Linked DNA regions of Homo sapiens: regions 2, 3, 4, 5 and 6 are each linked to region 1. The links are contacts of gene promoters, found by promoter capture Hi-C in blood cells and fetal thymus (Javierre and others, 2016). All regions are on one chromosome and are shown on one strand. The core of a region is centred on a gene start or on the middle of the fragment in contact, and the rest is flanking DNA. Distances in the headings are between cores, read along the strand shown.

Evidence for each region. The method cuts DNA at HindIII sites, captures the fragments that hold promoters and counts their contacts. A CHiCAGO score of 5 or more calls a contact.
Region 2: a fragment that was not itself captured here is called in contact with the fragment with the promoter of FLJ46875 in region 1 in 1 of 17 cell types (non-activated CD4 T cells); the score reaches 6.8 in non-activated CD4 T cells.
Region 3: a contact is called between the fragment with the promoter of MMADHC-DT here and the fragment with the promoter of FLJ46875 in region 1, in 1 of 17 cell types (naive CD4 T cells). The highest score is 5.8, in naive CD4 T cells.
Region 4: a contact is called between a fragment that was not itself captured here and the fragment with the promoter of FLJ46875 in region 1, in 1 of 17 cell types (total CD4 T cells). The highest score is 7.8, in total CD4 T cells.
Region 5: a fragment that was not itself captured here is called in contact with the fragment with the promoter of FLJ46875 in region 1 in 2 of 17 cell types (non-activated CD4 T cells and total CD4 T cells); the score reaches 13.4 in non-activated CD4 T cells.
Region 6: a contact is called between the fragment with the promoter of NMI here and the fragment with the promoter of FLJ46875 in region 1, in 4 of 17 cell types (non-activated CD4 T cells, total CD8 T cells, total CD4 T cells and 1 more). The highest score is 13.7, in non-activated CD4 T cells.

Annotation. Positions count from the first base shown.
Region 1 is chr2:156,340,723-156,343,659 of GRCh38, reverse strand. FLJ46875 (a long non-coding RNA gene) reads left to right here and starts at 1,540. Exons shown (of 1, transcript NR_147695.1): 1 at 1,540-2,937. RefSeq lists enhancers at 259-318, 1,526-2,079, 2,080-2,635 and silencers at 729-1,338, 1,879-1,978. The HindIII fragment of the contact is 3,407 bases long and covers 1-2,235 here.
Region 2 is chr2:148,638,517-148,641,453 of GRCh38, reverse strand. No RefSeq gene overlaps it. Among named protein-coding and RNA genes, the nearest start is that of EPC2, 4.8 kb to the left of the region's middle. The HindIII fragment of the contact is 2,630 bases long and covers 211-2,840 here.
Region 3 is chr2:149,585,987-149,588,923 of GRCh38, reverse strand. It overlaps MMADHC-DT (MMADHC divergent transcript), which reads right to left and starts at 1,566. Exons shown (of 3, transcript NR_110240.1): 1 at 1,074-1,566. It overlaps MMADHC (metabolism of cobalamin associated D), which reads left to right and starts at 1,149. Exons shown (of 8, transcript NM_015702.3): 1 at 1,149-1,260; 2 at 1,775-1,835. The coding sequence starts at 1,827. RefSeq lists enhancers at 1,103-1,422, 739-1,938. The HindIII fragment of the contact is 5,571 bases long and covers 1,431-2,937 here.
Region 4 is chr2:162,342,916-162,345,852 of GRCh38, reverse strand. GCA (grancalcin) reads right to left here and starts at 1,721. Exons shown (of 8, transcript NM_012198.5): 1 at 1,578-1,721. The coding sequence starts at 1,604. RefSeq lists silencers at 1,415-1,494, 1,735-1,884 and enhancers at 1,913-2,082, 1,935-2,164. The HindIII fragment of the contact is 3,657 bases long and covers 1-2,937 here.
Region 5 is chr2:162,312,707-162,315,643 of GRCh38, reverse strand. The region is part of intron 1 of IFIH1 (interferon induced with helicase C domain 1); the gene reads left to right. Among named protein-coding and RNA genes, the nearest start is that of IFIH1, 4.5 kb to the left of the region's middle. The HindIII fragment of the contact is 2,524 bases long and covers 103-2,626 here.
Region 6 is chr2:151,288,170-151,291,106 of GRCh38, reverse strand. NMI (N-myc and STAT interactor) reads left to right here and starts at 1,439. Exons shown (of 8, transcript NM_004688.3): 1 at 1,439-1,514. RefSeq lists enhancers at 851-1,270, 1,331-1,410, 1,801-1,850, 1,871-1,920, 2,721-2,890 and a silencer at 1,471-1,670. The HindIII fragment of the contact is 4,870 bases long and covers 1-2,937 here.

The DNA.
Region 1 (2,937 bases), core at 291-2,790:
CAAATTTCTTTATCTTCTAAACCCCAGCTCAGAGAACCTTCTACTATACCACTTTGCCTCACTAGTGAACTAAGAACCATTTCCCCCAACACTAGTAACTCACTCTAACCATGCCAAGTCACTGCAACACCTTGCTTGCATCTGCAAATTTTTATCTATGTCTATATCAGAACCTCAGAAAACATGTTCATAGCTGAGACATTTTGCTCAAGACGAAATACAGTTTTATAGTCTATTAATTGTTGGTCCAAGAAAACAGATTACCTCCAGTTGTATGTGGGTACCTTAATGAGTAGGACAAGTGTCAGGGTGTGTGACAGAATTGCCTGAGTATGGAAGGTAGCAGTGAGAGTCTCCACAAAAATATTAATACTTTCCTATAGAGAAAGCCCCTTTTAAAGTGGGAGCCTTTATTAAAGTCCAGAGTTAAAAAGTAAGCTCTTTAACGTTGAGATTATAGACTTTTAGAAAGTTCATTTATGCCATGTTTCAGGCCTATGCTAAATTCTACGGCAAAAAGACCTGTAAATGCACCGGAGCTGACAGCCTGGGTCCTGGAACCCTTCCTCACGCTGCTACTACGGGGCACCCTTTCTATAATACAACCCCCCGAATGAAAACACTAATGCAAGCCTGGCCCCACAAAAACCTAGATAATGCTTACGTTGAAGACGACAGGTTTTTCGCTTTTGTTTTCGGTTGAGGACTTACTACCCCAAAAACACATCCGACCTGTACTAGAATAGGTGTGTGAGGGAGCGGGAAAAGCTCGGGTCATTTTAACTGGACTAGAAAGGAACACAGCGATCCCCTCACTAAACTTGTCGCCAAGTTCCCTCCTCGCCATCCCAGGGTGCGGGAAAAACCCCCTCCCGCCCCGGGGCCCCGGCAGCACTCGGGGACGCCAGCACGCCGGGCTCCTTCCCACCCGCGAACCGCGCTCCCCGCAGGGCGGGCCGGGGCGGGGAAAAAGGAGCTCGACGCGAAGGGCCGCGGGCGGCCTGGGAAGGGAGGAGGGAGACTTGGGAGGCTGCCGGGCGGTTTTATTGTTTCCTTTCGCCCTCCTCCTACCGCGCCTCCGCCCCAGCGTCACTGGAAAGCCGCCCGAGCCGCCCGGCGGCAGGTTATTTATAGCGCGGGCTGCGCGCGCGTCACGGAGCCCGGCCCGGCTGACGGGGCCGCTGACGCGCTTGGCCGCGGGGCCGAGTCCGCGGGGCTGCGCGCCGGACGCCGGCGACAATGGGCTTCTGTGTGCAGCTGCCGCAGCCGCCGGGGGCCGGGGGCCGGGGGCCGGGGGAGGGGGGCGGGCGACTCCCCGGCTCCCTTCTTGGTCGGCCGCGACCCCCCGAAAGGTAACAGGCCTCTTTCGCCCCCGGCCAGGACCTGGGCCCTGTGGGCTTTTTTTTTTTCCATTTTATCAGTAAGTTCCCCTTGTCCCAGCCTCCGCTTTCACTTCCCGCGTTCCCTCCACCCCAAAAACCGCCCCAACATGTCCAGAGAGGGGCATCTACCCAGCCGCCCAGCCAGGGGCGACCACTTTGTGAGCCCCGGGGAGCGGGACCCGTACCAGGCGCGCCCAGCGGGGGATGCGGTGACCGAGGGGCCGGGAGCGCCGGGCAGGTAACGTATCCTGGACCTAGAGTCGGGGGACTTTGTTTGGGGCGGGAGGAGCGGAACAGGGGTGGGTGTGAACGCCGGACGGCCCTTCCGGGACTCCTGTCCCCCCTCCTTCGCCCCACTCGCCTGCGCGCTGGAAGCCAATCTGGGTGTGTAGCGCGAAGAGCGAAAGAGAAACTTCTGCGTGACTGACTAGATGAGGCTCCTCCCGAGAAGCCGAGATAATAGAGGCCCCCTCTCCCGCCGCCCGCCTTTTTCTCCTCCCCCGGCCGCTCGCTCCTGTCGCCCCACCCCTCGAAGGCTGCGGACCAGCCCCCCACACTTCCCCCTACACCTCTGGCGGGTTCGCGCCGTGGACGCCCCCGCCCTGCGGGAGGAGGGGCTGGCGCGGATTTTAGGGACTTCCTGGGATGCGGAGATCGGCTCTGAACCATCCCCTTTCTGCTGCCCGGAGCTGGGGAAGCTCGCTGTGGAGCGTCTCGCACGTGGCAGGCAGGCAGAGAACTTGCTGCACCTTCTAGGAAATTGCAATCGATTTGTAATGCACTTTCGCTAATTGGGAGTTCAAAATTAAACTTTAATAAAGCATTCGTGTCGTCTCGTCTAATTGTGAAAGCTTCCATCCGTCCTGGTAGATAGACTCTAAGTCTCAAGTTAATGGCGCTAAGCTAGATTTTCCCCCCAAGTACAATTCCGTCAGCCGTCGTCGGCGCAGCTGGATTTCCGTAAGGTACAGATGTTGCTAATGACAGCTTAAGCACGGATGGGCAGATAGCATACGGAATGCAACATGTTGCCATATGGTTCCTTTAGCCTTTCACCTCCAGGGATATCAATCACATATATTCTGGGAGGAACTTAATGACTCTCTGAACAGCAAAATGAATTACCTGGTACAATTTATATCCCTTGACCTGATACGTTATAACAACAGGAAGATAGCATCTCGCAATTTCTGTGGTATAAATTGAACTACAGAGCTACATTTAAAATTCTACATCTATTTGTAGTTTAAGGGGCCCTGTCATATTCTGGCTGTAAAATCTGTTTCTGTATTGCCCATCTCCTTCCCCCTCCTACCTCTGGAGGAAGCAAAATTTATAAAGTTTAGCAAAACTGGTGTCGGAAATTGCCAGTCAACTGATTAATAGATGAAGTATGGAGAAATGGAAAATATGACTTCCAGAGCTACTTACTTCAACAAGAATTAGCCATCTTTAGGAACACCATACTTTTAAGCGTACAAAATTAAAGAACTCCAGAAAATGTATTTTCTGCTAGTTGTTTCAGTATAGCTCCTAAATCTATTCATTAACTATT
Region 2 (2,937 bases), core at 276-2,775, 7.7 Mb after region 1:
ATAATGGACAAATTACTTTTTGAAAGGAATCTTAAAACTAGTAAACACAGTTGCTATTCAACTATTTCAGAGTTTTGCAAATGTCACGTTCTTTCTAATTGGCTCCTGGTTTCAGCAAAACCATTTGAAAGTTAATTGGGTTAGTATGTGAACTGCATCTCCACCCCTCCCCCTTATGTTCCCAGGAATGAGCCTAGTACTAATAAAGCTTCGTTGTTTTCCATATGTAATCTGAATGTGGGGTCTGCATTCATTACAATCAACTGGAATCAGTTCTGTGGTTCCAGTGCCCTTTTCTGAGGCAGCTCTGCATCTTTGAGACATAGGGACAGAGACTACACTGAGAGGTGACCTGCCAAACATCTACTTCTACCTCTGCATTTGCCACCGTGGGAATAGCAGATGGTAAATAAAAATTTGTGACTGTGGCTCAGTTTCTTAGCAGCATCGCTCCTCTCAGACCTGGTTGGAATCACAGGGTGCCACCTTGTGTATAAGCTGACGATTTACTTCCCAGCTCCACAAAGGATCCAAATAGACTCCAAAATAATCAGCCTGAAAGCTCTGCATTTTGGTAACTAAAAAAAAAAGAAACAGATTTGAAAACACACAGCTCCAGAGGGTCCACAACACCCAATTTTGAATTGCACTGACAGCCTGTCTCATTTGTTGCCCCACCCGGACCGTAAAACACAACCAGTGCTCCACATTTGGAATAGATTGACGCTGCTCACTCAGGCTTTTGGATGGGGATAAGAGAAATAAGTAAAGCTCTTGTGATGAAGCTAACAAATCTGACTTGGACAGTTATGTGTGTCCAAACAGCAAGCAAGCTATGTAGATGTAATTTCAGGATTTTTTTTTTCTTTCTTTTTTTTTTTTTTTTTTTTGAGATGGAGTCTCTGTCACCCAGGCTGGAGTGCAGTGGTGCAATCTTGGCTCACTGCAACCTCTGCTTCCTGGGTTCAAGCAATTCTCCTGCCTCAGCCTCCTGAGTAGCTGAGATTACAGGCACATGCCACCACGCCTGGCTAATTTTTGTATTTTTAGTAGAGACAGGGTTTTGCCATGTTGGTCAGGCTGGTCTTGAACTCCTGACCTCATGATCTGCCTGCCTCAGCCTCCCAAAGTGCTGGGATTACAGGAGTGAGCCACCGTACCTGGCCTGGACTTTGGATTTTTGAGAGGCACTAGGTTCCATTGAGCTGATGAATATGAGCCTACTTGTTTTAATAAAATAAGTAAAATAATTATTTTTAAAAATAAGTACTTATTTTAATAAAATTGGATGATAGTGAGGTTTTAAAAATGACCGAGTTTGGAACAGAAATACAATTGTTGGAGCAAGGCCACGGGAGGTTAAAAAATAGGATCCTTTCCAATCCAGCTACCTTGCCCTTGAGAAATTCCACACTTGGAGGAAACCCACTCTAAATTCAGCACAGCTGTCATTCAGCTGAAGACACTATTACATTCATGGAACTAGCTGGATGATTCATATTATTTTCATAAGGGTGTTGGAGTGGAGATCCTGGGGCTTTGGGGGCTACAGATGCACACCCACTGTTGGTTTAGGGCTCCTGAAATGTATATTCTTCACAGTTTCTGTCTCCATTGGTGCATCCTGTTCTCCTGAGGCACCTCTGAAAGGTAACTTGGAAGGTTGTTTCAATCCCTGTGAAGGCAGTTCAGTCTCACTGACTTTGCTGGCCCATCTCAGACAACAAGCAGGCTCAGAGCACCAAGCTCACTGGGGTCCAAGTGTTAGCTAAGAGGAGTCCATTGTTAGGAAACTTGGGTTGCTCGTCTAAACATGGTTCCTCTCACCTATTTTTTTAAATCTCTACCACCAACAAAAGATTAAATGTTTATAACCACAGATTTGTGAATGGCGTATGCAGCTGGAATCCTGAATTGAAGAAAATCGGTGAATTGATTTATTAACAGCCATGCCTTACTGATCTGATCTTTTGTTGTCCCCTAGAACAAAATAACCTGTTTCCTAAGAAAAAGGTTCTGATAGTAGCATACTGAGAGCCCCTTAAATTCCACAGTGACTTGTTAGGAGGTAGAAAGGAAAGCCACTTTGTTTTCTCCAAATTAGAAGACAGATTTACTTGTCTTTCCTCAGCTATTAAAGGTGACTTTGGCAGGGAAAGAAACAGAGACCACTGAAATAAAACACACTAATTACTTAGAAATTTACTGACTCACCCATACCTCTCACCTTGTTTCAGAAAGGATTTCAAGTGGCTTTTAAGAGTTGCTAAAATATGCTAGGATAGCATTTGGGTTCTAAATTTCCTAGTAACACGAAATTAGGAAACTTTGTCAGCTTCACAGCTCACAATATCCATTAGATAAAATGACTGCTCAGGAGAGTTACAGTTGTTCCTGGTACTCATTGCAATGTCCAAGAGTCTTTATAAATAGAGCAACTAGGTGATATAACAGATATTTCAACAGTAATCTTACAATAGATACAAAAGGGGCATCTAAGGGCTGTTTCTTATAGTGACCCTCCATATACACTGACGGCATTATACGCAATCCAGCACAACCAATTCTGCAGAGGTTAGAATGGAGCTGGATGTCTGAAGCCATGAGCCCCACCCCATACAGATCTGGGAGTATGAATGGACCCTACGGCCCCCAGGCAATCCTGCCTGAAGATTCTTTTTCTCTCAACTGTCTCCTGATAAACTGTCCTGCTGAGAGCTCAAAATTGTGCACTATTACAATTGCCTGAAGTGCAGCTCTTCTAAATGCCCAATTAAGGGCAGGCCCACACGCCTTAAATGACCATGTTGTGGAGGATATTTTCTGGAAAGAAAGAAGCTTAACAAGAACCAGTGCCTGAATAGAAAGCTCTCCTCCCGCTCTTGCAATGAGCTAAGGGTGTATCCACTGGCAAAGCCAAGAGGTAGTCTGACCTTT
Region 3 (2,937 bases), core at 317-2,816, 6.8 Mb after region 1:
TAAAGTAGTATTGGATTATAACCCAAAATGTAAAATAAATATCCATGAGTCCATACTGACATAAATGATTGAATACATAAATAAATGCAGTACAGACAAATCTCCCATGCAGAAGAATTCCAAATAATTCATGAAGATATTCTGTCCTCATAAAGGTGGAGTATAACAATTTCCCATTCCTATAGTTTGGGCTGCACAGAGAGATGTCCTTCCAAATAGTATAGTATGGAGAGGAAAAGAAAAACAGTAACTTCACAGTGGAGAAACCTGACAAACCCTACATAGGGAGGTGGAAGGGCTTACTAGATGAAACAAAGGGGATCTTTGTAGAACTATAAAACTTTTCTGTATGACACTGTAATAATGGTGATAAAGGTTAGCATCAACAGTAATAAGTCATGTTGATAGTATATACCCTTGATGTGATGTGATGAGAAGATCACTTTACCTTACCTCTTAACTCAAGAAAAACCCATAACCTCAGTTAATGCATGAGAAAAATACAGGCAAAACCCAATTGAAGGACATTTGACCAAATGACCAATAAGTCGCTTCAAAACTATTAAGGTTATCAAAAACAAGGAAAGTTTGAGAAACGGTCACGGTCCAGAGGAGCCTGGAAGACATGGTGATGTACTCCGGACAGGATCCTGGAATGGAAAAGAATACCAGGTCGAAAACTAAGGACATCTGGAATAAAATATGGGCTTATGGGCTTTAATCAATTTTTAAAAAAGTATTAGATACATGAAAATGATACACGATTTACAAATCAATCGCCTAATATTTATCGAGCATATTGAGAGCCTGGCACTGTGGTAGGGCTGGGGACACAGAAAGAGGTAAGTGCCCTATGCTCAAAAACAGCGATTCATGAAAAATAAACAACTATGACAAAAAGAACAGAAGACTGTATCTCCTGGAGGCAGTAAGGAAGGCTTAAGTTGGGAGGACTATCAAACGCATCAAGGAGTTACTGAAGATTAACTGACCCGCCTAACGCAGGTCGGAAGCCCTCCTATCCATCCACCCAAATCACCCCTGCCCCACCTTTTCTCCTCCCTTGCGTTTACCCAATGGCAGGTCGGCTCCACGTAGGCCTACTTTGCGCGTGCGCATCATCGTTTCGACGCGCTCGGAAGCAACTTCCTTTGCCTGCTCACCGCCAGCGTAGGTGCTACCACCGCTGCCGTCGCCGCCGCCATTTTGATGGCAGGAAGAGTCCGGTTCTGGGACAGCTGGAGACAGTGGTGGTGACTGGTACGGATGGTTTCCGCCCATGTTAGCCCCTCCAAATTTGCCCGTGTTAGGGTTACAGCCCTCGGTATTGCCCGTATTTTCACTGGGTCCCTGTCGTTGTCCCCAGCCATCCTGTCCGTCTGTCTTTAGTCTCTTTTCTGCTTCCTCATCTTTCCGATCAGCCTGAAGCTTTGCTTGGAGCTGTTGTTACGCAGCCCCAACTTCTGTTAAAGCAGCCGCTTCGATCCTCTGGACTGAATTTTGGCCACCCAGCCCCCATTCCCCTCCCGGATCTGGTCCGAGTTGTTTTTCCGCGGCTGTAAACCGGAAGGGCTCTGAGCTGCACTGCCGGCTCCGGGCTGGGGGATCTGTGCCTGGCATGGGGGCGAGTTCTGGCCTCCTTAGGGTACGGGGAGAGCTTGGACTTTGGTCCTGACGTGGTGGACGACACACCTTCGAAGAGTGGACGTTACCTCAGTTGTCTGTTGTTAGAGTTTAATCGATCACTCGTCTGTTTTGTTGTGTTCTTTCCCAGAAATAACTTTACCAAAGGAAAGCTATTTTGCGAACTATCTTCTCCAGCGGAGATGGCCAATGTGAGTAAATTATCTCTTAAGAATCAGCATAGTAAACTCGTTTGGGAATGTTAGGAATGAAAGAACGGGTTTAATTATGATGGCATTGGGTGGTATAGTGTTAGATATAATGTATCAAAAATGTCAAGGGAAGCAAGTGGTGTGAAATTATGTTATGCTTTGAAGATGGTAGCATTCTTTGCACTGCAAATACACTTATTTATACAATTTCATTTGTACAGATGTGGAAATTCAAGCACCCTTTCGGTATTTTTTAAATACAGCGTTTCAGTAAATATTAGAATCTATGTTTAGGCCCTTTTTTAGCTTTTGGGTTAGCTAAACTGAAGGGTTTTTTTAATCTTTTTTTCTTTTTTTTAAAACAGTTTCCATATTGGAAGTGACCTTCTAAATCCTACAAAATAAGAATAGGAGATACTCTCACACACCAGAGATATTTATTGACTGTAACTTTGCAGTGATTAGACACATCCTATCTATAGAATTCATATGTAGCGGTCATAAGACATATATAAAAACAGCTACAATTAAAGTATAAAGTAATAATTTTTTTTAGAACCTACACGAAGGTGCAATGCAGATTCAAGTCTTTGTGGAGAGGAGTTTGGGATCACTTCATGAGGGAAACATTTAACTTGAGGTTTGAAAGATAGGTGGGATTTGTATAGTCTAAAATATGAGCGGGAAGGACAGGAAGGTATATTCAAAGAACTCCCCAACCCGCCTACCCCTTTGAAAAACTGAAAAGTGACTGCTGCCTGCCAACCTGAATGTAAGCTGCATGAAAGAGATAAGTGGGAGATAAGGTTGAATTGTGAGGTTGGTACCAAGTAAATGAGAGCCTTGAATGCCGAACTCAGTAATTTAGACTTCATTCTTTAAATTGTGATTATTCACTTAGAGCTGTGTGCTAGGAAGATTTATATGGCAGCATTTAGCCAGGATGCTATTTCTGTAATTGAACATGGTATATTAAGTCTAAAGTGTGACTATAGAGACAAGTCATAAGAATAGATTACTAGTCTTGGCCAAGTTCTATGGTGAATTTTTGCCTGCCCATAACCTGCACAGAAAGAGAATGCTGTAAAAGAAGTATGTGGTA
Region 4 (2,937 bases), core at 236-2,735, 6.0 Mb before region 1:
ATAAACGTCTCAACTATCTTATTAATATTCTCCTACTAAAGAAATCATGTAAGTTTTATCCCAAAATTTTATCCAATGTATCTTAAAATATTTCAATTACATTTTTTAAAATCAGTGCCTCTAATCTATATATTGCTTCAGCTATTGAGGGTACTTCTCTTTCCGGCGATTAATAATGAGCATGACAACAGCTGAAAAGAGTTGTTTATTTTAAATTCATGGAAAAGGGGATTTAAATATTCAAAACACATACAGACGTTCTCTTTATTGTGTCGTGGAACTCTCCATCAAATTCAAGCACTCTGACAAAAGTGGGTAAGGAAGCACCAAATTATTTGAATGAAAATGTATTACTCTTGCCACCTCACTCTACCATACATATATGAATTCAGAGCATACCAAGAGGAGTAAATATACAAACTTCTAACAGATAGCTTCAACCAAATGAAAATACGTATACGCTAGGGACGTTTTTAAAGACCCACAGGTTTATGCTATCTTGATTAATCTTCGAAGGGGCTTTACTTTCCTTAGGTACCTTAAACTTCCTTCCTAAATTTAAGGACTGAGGAGGCATAGGCATTACAAAGTGGACGGTGCCAGAGGGGATTGAGGCAAGTCTTAAGGAAAGCAAATCAATTTTAGGAACAAGTATGTGTGGAAGTTGAGGACCTGGAAATTCATATCCTAAAACAACAACAACAACCACAACCACAACCACCACCACCACCACCACCACCACCACCACCACCACCACCATGAACTCCAAGGGGTAGGAGTAACTCTTTTGAAGACCACAACCATAGCCCAAAGTCAAGTCCTATATTAAAATCAGTAAAACACAATTTCTCTTTTTAGGTAAAAAACAAATAGAAAATATATTATATTCTACCCACACCGCAATGGATCAAACTACTGTTAACTCTGTTAACACAGCGTGTAGATCACTGACATCGATACTAAAGGTTTGGGCTCCTTTCTGAAAAGAAGGGGCTAGCCACCAGGACTCTACGATTATAACTTGCAACTCCCAAAGGTGATGCAGGATAAAAGTTATAACAAAGAGTAACTTCCCCCCGCCTGGGGGCGAGCGGGGGAGTCTAGAACAGATTGCCCTTCGTATAACAGTAAAGATTAGGAGTTATTTACCGTACACCTTAATTTATTCATAAGGAACTTAAAGAACAAGAAGTGGTCAGGAAATTCAAAAAGAGGATCTCTAGCAACACTGAGTGGGGGGCGGGGGAGGGAAGTACCACAAACGATTACTGGAACAAGAAGAGGGTGGCTTGTTCCTCCATTCCAGGAAATAAATTTCCAAACACACATTACTCCCTCGGCTCCACCAGGACGCTCCTCGAGGGTCCTCAACGACCAGAAAACCTGCGGCTCCAAGTCAGCCCAGGATCAATGCTCGCCCAGGCCCTGGCCCCCAACAGCCCCGGAATCCGGCGCCGCCGAGTACCAGGCGCGGACGCAGGGAGCAGGAGCCAAGGGCGGACCCGCACGTTGGCACCGCCCCCGGGGGCGCCACACCCCGCGAGGAAGAGGGACACGACCAAGCGGCTGGGACTCACCCCTCCTCCGTATCCCGGGTAGGCCATGACGAGCGGGACGAGCGGAGCGAGCGTCACCCTCGAGTCGCGTCCGCAGTGCTGGGAGAAAAAGCACAGGCGCAGGTGCAAGGAGGCGCAGCTGCAGGTGAGGCTGAAAGGCGCACTAACCGCACAGTTCACTCCTCCGAACCCGCCCCCTTCCGCAGGCCAGCCCCGCCCTGCACGGTTCCGATTGGCTGAGTCCCACACTTTGGAGCCAACTCAGCTGCAGTCCGCCCCTTCCCGCAGCCTAGCCCCACCCATCTCTGCCCTGATTGGCTACACCCCATCGGGAGCCCTCCAGTCCCTGCTCGACTCTTACTGGCTCCCTCAGGTTCTCGCGCGCTCTCCTTCTAAATCCCGAAGAAGCCTTGGCTGCTGCAACGGAATTCCCACTCTCTGTGGAAAGGTCTTCTACAAGCCTTCAACTCCTCAAGTTACTTTTCTTTCTAGAAACCCCAAACCGGCAAGTCTGTGACTTATTTTAACCAGCCCTCCACGCTTTTGAGCTGGACTTCAAAGACCCATCTGTGAATTTCAAAATTTTGCAGTTACATTTACTTTTGTGTAGTGTTGATGTCACATCAAAACTTTGCAACCAGGACCACACCTGTGGTCCAGGAGGAGTGCTTCTGCGCCAAAACCCACTTGAGGCCACATTGGACGAACAGGTTATTGATTCTGTTTGGTAGATAAATGGTGACCTGAATTGTGGCATGTTGGCAAATAAACAGGATATCTAGTTAAAGTTGATTTCCAAATAAACTTTTTTAGTGTAAGTATGTCCCAAATATTGCACAGGACGTGAACATACACTAAAAACTTATTTGCTGTTTATACACTGATAATATAGACGGTGTCCTGTATATAATCTGACTCAGCCTTTGGGCAAACTCTTGTTAAATGTTCAATTACTTTGGCTTATTAAGTAATAGCAATGGACAAGTCTGATTTATCTCTGGAACTCAAATGAATTTTGTAGCTCTGACTTTAAAAGGACAAGGCAGCTGTAGCTTTGGCTTATGAACAAATGAAAAAACCAAATGATATTATTTTGAGTTATCTCTGAAGAACAAGAGAAGGGCTAACATGTTTCTTAAAAATAAGGCTATCAAAAAAATGTTAACTATTCACAAAGGAAATCAGCCTTGCAGAGCTGAGTATCTGTTGTTCAGCTATGCTACAGAAGAGGATGTTGGACCTTGTGAAACAATTCTCAGAGGAAACAGCAGAGAGAAAGGAAGATTGCCGATGTCCTAGCTACTCTTGGGAAAGTGTCTGTAAGTTCCTTCAATGCTGTAAGAAATACTTAAGCCACTAAGGTTAAATTATTGGCATAAAT
Region 5 (2,937 bases), core at 115-2,614, 6.0 Mb before region 1:
GAAGTTCCCTGATGCTACATTTACCTGTGAAAATGGACATCATAAAATTTCTCACAGTATTTTAGTCAACATCAAATCAGAAATAGTGTTTATGAAAAAGCTTATAAATCAGAGCTATTTGATATGATAATGGTGTTGACTTTTGTAACCATTCATCTGGTTACATTTCTGTGTAAATTTAAGTTTGAGAGATTGAGGTAAATTCCCCATGTCGCAATTGAGATATACTTCTTAAAGTCCCTAGATTATACTGATTTGAAAAAGAAATTACCTCTTTCATCCCAGAACCTAACTAGGATTAGGTAGAGGGTTGGTGTTTAGTAAGCATTGATTACTTGATTGATAGACTAATTGAATTTATTTCTGAAAGTGTCTGGAATAAGCGTTGAAAACACATGACGTATTGAATTGTGTTGCCAGGCGTTAGAGAATGGATGAATGATGAAAATAAGATTTCCAAATTTGCTTTTTTGAAGGCTTAAAATAGCATTTAACTAAGTAATCAAGACTTCTATAAAATGGTCTTGTATTTTCATTCTTTTTCTGTTTCCCCATAGACATTTTCTACTTGATCTATTATTTTAATTTAGGATTCCCACCCCATTTCCTAGCCCCTGCCCGTAATTACAGCAGGCCTTCTGAAAATGACTTTATACATAGGTTTGTGTCCAGCAAGTACCCAAAAACTTATTCATTCATTCACTCATTCATTCAGTTTGAATTTATTGAGTGGCATCTTTGTGCCGGATGCCATGCTAGTGGTGAAAAGATAGGAGAAAAACACAGAGACTGTTTTGTCCTTTCGTGAAGTTGTGTTGTAGTGTTAATTAGTGTTGATAAAAGAATGTCTACTGTAGGCCAGTCATGGTGGCTTACGCCTGTAATCCCAGCACTTTGGGAGGCCGAGGAGGGTGGCTCTCGAGGTCAGGAGATGGAGACCATCCTGGCTAACACGGTAAAACTCCGTCTCTACTAAAAATACAAAAAAATTAGCTGGGTGTGGTGGTGGGAGCCTGTAGTCCCAGTTACTCGGGAGGCTGAGGCAGGAGAATGGCATGAACCTGGGAGGCGGAGCTTGCAGTGAGCTGAGATGGCGCCACTGCACTCCACCCTGGTGACAGAGCGAGACTCCATCTAATAAGAAAGAGAGAAAGAAAAAGAAAGAAAGAAAGAAAGAAAGAAAGAAAGAAAGAAAGAAAGAAAGAAAGAAAGAAAGAAAGAAAGAAAAGAAAGAAAGAAAGAAAGGAGGGAGGGAGGGAGGGAGGGAGGGAGGGAAGGAAGGAAGAAAGGAAGGAAGGAAAGAAGAATGTCTACTGTATACAAGGGACTATTCTAAATACTAGAGTTTCAGCAATAAATATATGCCATTTTATCAATCATTATAATAAAGCAATCCTTAATGGTAAGGGGGTACCCCTGTACTGCCTTGCTCCTCTTTTAGGATGCTAAGTTACAATTTGGCATTGTTACATCTTAGTTATAACTAAGTTACAACTTGGCACACCCATCAATTTAGGCAGTCATGAACTCTGGGAACGAAAGTGATCATATAAACATTTCCATAGTGTCTTAATAATCAAGCTGAACAGCTAAAGAGAGATGCATGTTTCATCCCTGGCCAGTTCAGAACACAATGCATCTGTAGTCCTGGAGACTCCACACACCTTCCATTTACACAGAAGAACCAGAGATGCCATGACTAGTCCACCTAAGAACAGTCCAGTTCTCCCAACATGAAGTTGAGCACCCAAGTCAATCTCCCCAGGAACATTGTATTGTCTGGCAAATTAGGAAAGATAAGAATTTCATCTGCAAAAAAAAAAGTATGAATAAGAAATTAGCTATGTCAATGTGACAATAAATATTCATTGGGTTAAGACATTAACTTTTTGTGGGAAACTGGTTCTTTAAAATTCTTTTTTAACATACAGGTTTTGCCTCCTGATTTACTTTTATCTGAGAGTTGAACTCTGCTGGGTTAAAAAAATCACCATTATATTTAAATAGCTATCTAAGGTTATTATAAAGGGAAGAAAACATTTTCATTAAACTGTACAATTGTGTTGGTAAGCCAGTGCTTTATGGAAATGTCATTGGTTTCTTCACTGATTTCTGTTGGAAAGAAAAAACATATCAAAGAATTTAGAATATGAAAGCATTGAGTTGTATTATTACCAAATTAATTTTATTTCGTATTTCATAAATTAGTTAACAATGTATTAATAGACTACATAGTGAAAACATCCATCCATTTTTAACTTCACAGAGAAAACTTCGAGTGGGGGAGGGGCATGGGTGAGAATTGTTTTATGACTTGTTGCAGTCTCAAATGTAAATATTCACCTCCCACGAATTTCTGTAATTGTGTTTACATATTGGGATCAATATCTTTACAATGTTTTAGGAGAACATATTAAATTTTTAAAATTATATAATTGCTTCAAAGGGAGCTGATGTACTTTCCAGCACCAAAACTGAGAAGATTTCTTAAAAATTCAGCATCTTGATGAGGCTGCTAAAATTGCACAGATATATGTAGTTCCACATTCAAATTGTAAGAATATGTTTAGGAAATAATGACATCATGATCCTTATATGCTTGGACTCAATAACGGCAAAGAAAGCTTGAAAAATATGATTCCACAGTAAAAGTTGACTTAATAGAATAGTGGTTGAAGAAAATTTTGTGGATAGAATATGCTTAGGGATTTTTAATAACAGCATTTGTTGCCTCACTGGTTCTTTTTAAGGAAATCCTTCCTGATTGCTTCAGTCAAATATATTTAAAGCTGATTAAAGGATGGGGTAATAAAATATGAGAATGGCTGAGTTAAAAGAAGACACTGAAACCAGTCTTATTTACATCTATAGCAATTACTTGTTAAATTAGCAGATGATAATAAAGATGTTACAACATCAGGGAAGCCAAAGAATTTC
Region 6 (2,937 bases), core at 190-2,689, 5.1 Mb after region 1:
TGCCTTTTAAACAGAATCTGAGTCAATATATTAAGTTAGTCCTGTTCTGGCCATGGTCCTGTCCTTTAGTATCTTCTTGTAAAAAATAAAAATAAGAAGAAATGAGGTTCAACTAAATAACCTCGAGAGTTCATATTCCCTCTAAAATTTCAAGGTAAAACTAAAGTAATTCTTTCTCAAGTTGCAGCAGAAGGAGTTTTTGTATTTTCTAACTGGTCTGATAAGCACAAAGAAGTCGTTTTTTTTACTTAGAAATGCCATTTTACAGGAGGCTGAGGTGGTGGGATCACTTGGGCCAGAGCTCAAGATCAGCCTGGGAAACAGTTAGATACCTGCCCCCAGCACCCAAATTAAAAGTACAAAAAATCTGGGTGCGGTCGTGAATTCCTGTAATCCCAGCTACTTGGGAGTGGAGGTGGAAGGACTGCTTGAGCTCAGGAGTTGGAGACTGGGCAACAGAGCAAGACTCATCTCAAAAAAAAAAAAAAAAAAGAGAAATGTCACCACTTTAAACTGGTTCCCATCAACCTTTTTGATACAAAGAAATTTTACTTTTGTTAAACTATTTTAGACCACTGTATCAGTTATTATATGTGACTAGGTAGCATGATAACCTATAATTTATGCCTTGAAATAATTTTGACTCATTTTCTTCCCACATCTGTATTTATGAGCCGGGGCAGCTGTGGGGTGGTTCTTTGTGTGGGATTAAGAGACACTGCAGTTCTTGAAATAAACCAGATGTTTGAATTTTCAAAGGAAAAGTTCACACCTAGTGAAGTATTTATTTACAAGCTCCACAACAAAACAAGAGATTATAAGAAAACTTTCAAGGGACATGGGTCACAGAAACCAACAGGAACACCACAGCTTTCCCAACTTCATGGCCCCGGGGGATGTTACAAAAGACACAGAAACGCCGATCTTGTGCTGACTGTAAACATTTGTCAACTAGTGTTACAATGACTAAGAAATTACAAAAGAGTTACAATCTGATGAAGAGCGATTCCTGCTTTGACTTTATTTGGTTTCTATCCACTTTTCCAACATACCTTATAAAATACATGCAAAAAACTGGTTTTAGAAAGCGTTCCCTAAAATTAGTGTGTACGGAAACTTCAGGTATACTTCTGCTTTCCTCCGCAAAACCACCCCTTTTTAAAAATCGAAAGTGAAATTAGTTTTTTTTTCTGTTAGTGACTAATCATTGGAGACAACCATGTTTAGTATTTGAGCATTGGTTAAATGCTAAAGAAAAATCGCCGTTAAAGCAGTTTTCTTTTTCACTGTCTTTTTCTTTTCGCGGGGAACCCAGCTGTTCCTGCGAGGGCCACCTCCTCAGGAAGACCCCGCAGCTCTCCCGCGGCGCTTCTGCAGGAGGCAGCGACAGTTTCGAGAACCCGGGCCTTCCCCTCCCAGTGCCTCCCGGGGTTCCGGCGTTTCAGGCGCTGCTGTTTTCCGGGAAGGGCAGGCGCGCTGGGCCTTGGGGAGCTGCGCTCGGCGGGCGGACGCGGGTGAGTGGGGAGTCCCTTCCCCGGCTGCCACTCCCGCCGCTGGCAGTCCCGGGCTGGAGAGCCGGGGGTGGAAAGGGAGGTGGGAGCCCTCAGCGCCGACGGAAGTGGGACAGCGCCGGAGTTGAGACCCTGCTCCCCGGGAGCTGCCCGCAGCCGAGTCGCGGAGGCCACGCCGCCTTCGAGGGGGCGCACCTGCTCCTGGGCCCGCTGTGCAGTCTCTGGGCCGTCAGGGCTTCGAGCCTTGTCACTTGTTTGCTTTGCTTCATTGAGGAAATTGAAACATAAAGTTATTTGTGTTTCCTCGCTGTTTTCTCTCTTTTTTTTTTTTTTTTTTTTTTTTGAGACGGAGTCTCGCTCTGTCGCTCAGGCTGGAGTGCAGTGGCGCGATCTCGGCTCACTGCAAGCTCCGCCTCCCGGGTTCACGCCATTCTCCAGCCTCAGCCTCCCGAGTAGAGTAGCTGGGACTACAGGCGCCCGCCACCACGCCTGGCTAATTTTTTTTTTTGTATTTTTAGTAGAGACGGGGTTTCACCGTGTTAACCAGGATGGATACGATCTCCTGACCTCGTGATCCGCACGCCTCGGCCTCCCAAAGTGCTGGGATTACAGGCGTGAGCCACCGCGCCCGGCCCTCGCTGTTTTCTCCGAGTGTCTCTGGAGATAGTCCTTAGGAAAACGGATTTCTTAAGAAAACGATTCTTGGTAGGGGCAGTGTTGTGCAGTCATGGCTGGCGTGTCAGAATAGGCAAGGTTTTTCTTGAAGGAGACATCCGAAGGAGAATACTGTGTTTCCAGTCTGTACAACAGGCAGACGTTCTATTGCCTTTCTTTTTGCTGCCACGCATGCATATAGGAAGATTCGATTCTACACGGCCTGGCACCGCAGTTATATGATTGTATTACGGAAATACGGTGATGTTGATTTGTATCAGTTTTTTTAATTCGCTGCCATAACAAATTACATGGCTTTAGTGGCTTAAACACATAGGAACGCGCGCGCGCGCGCACACACACACACACACACACACTCACATACACAATTTACTATCTTAGGATTCTGTAGCAGTCCTACTGAGGTCTCACTGGGTTAAAATCAAAGTGTTGGCAGGGTTGCCTTCCTTTCTGGAAGCTCTTGGGGTGAATCCTCTTTCCATCTTCCGGAGGCCACCTACCTTATTTGGCTCAGCAGCCCTTCCTCCATCTTCAGGGCCAGCAACATTGCGCCTCTGAAAGTTCTTCCGGGGTCACATTTCACTCTTGACTCTTCTTCTGTCTTCCGCTTTCACTTTTAAGTAGCCTCATGATTACACTGGGCTCCCACAGATAATCCAGGATGCTCTCCATATTTAAAAGCAAGCTGATTAGCAACCTTAATTCAATCTGCAGCCTTAATTCTCCTTTGCAATATAAACTAACATAATCA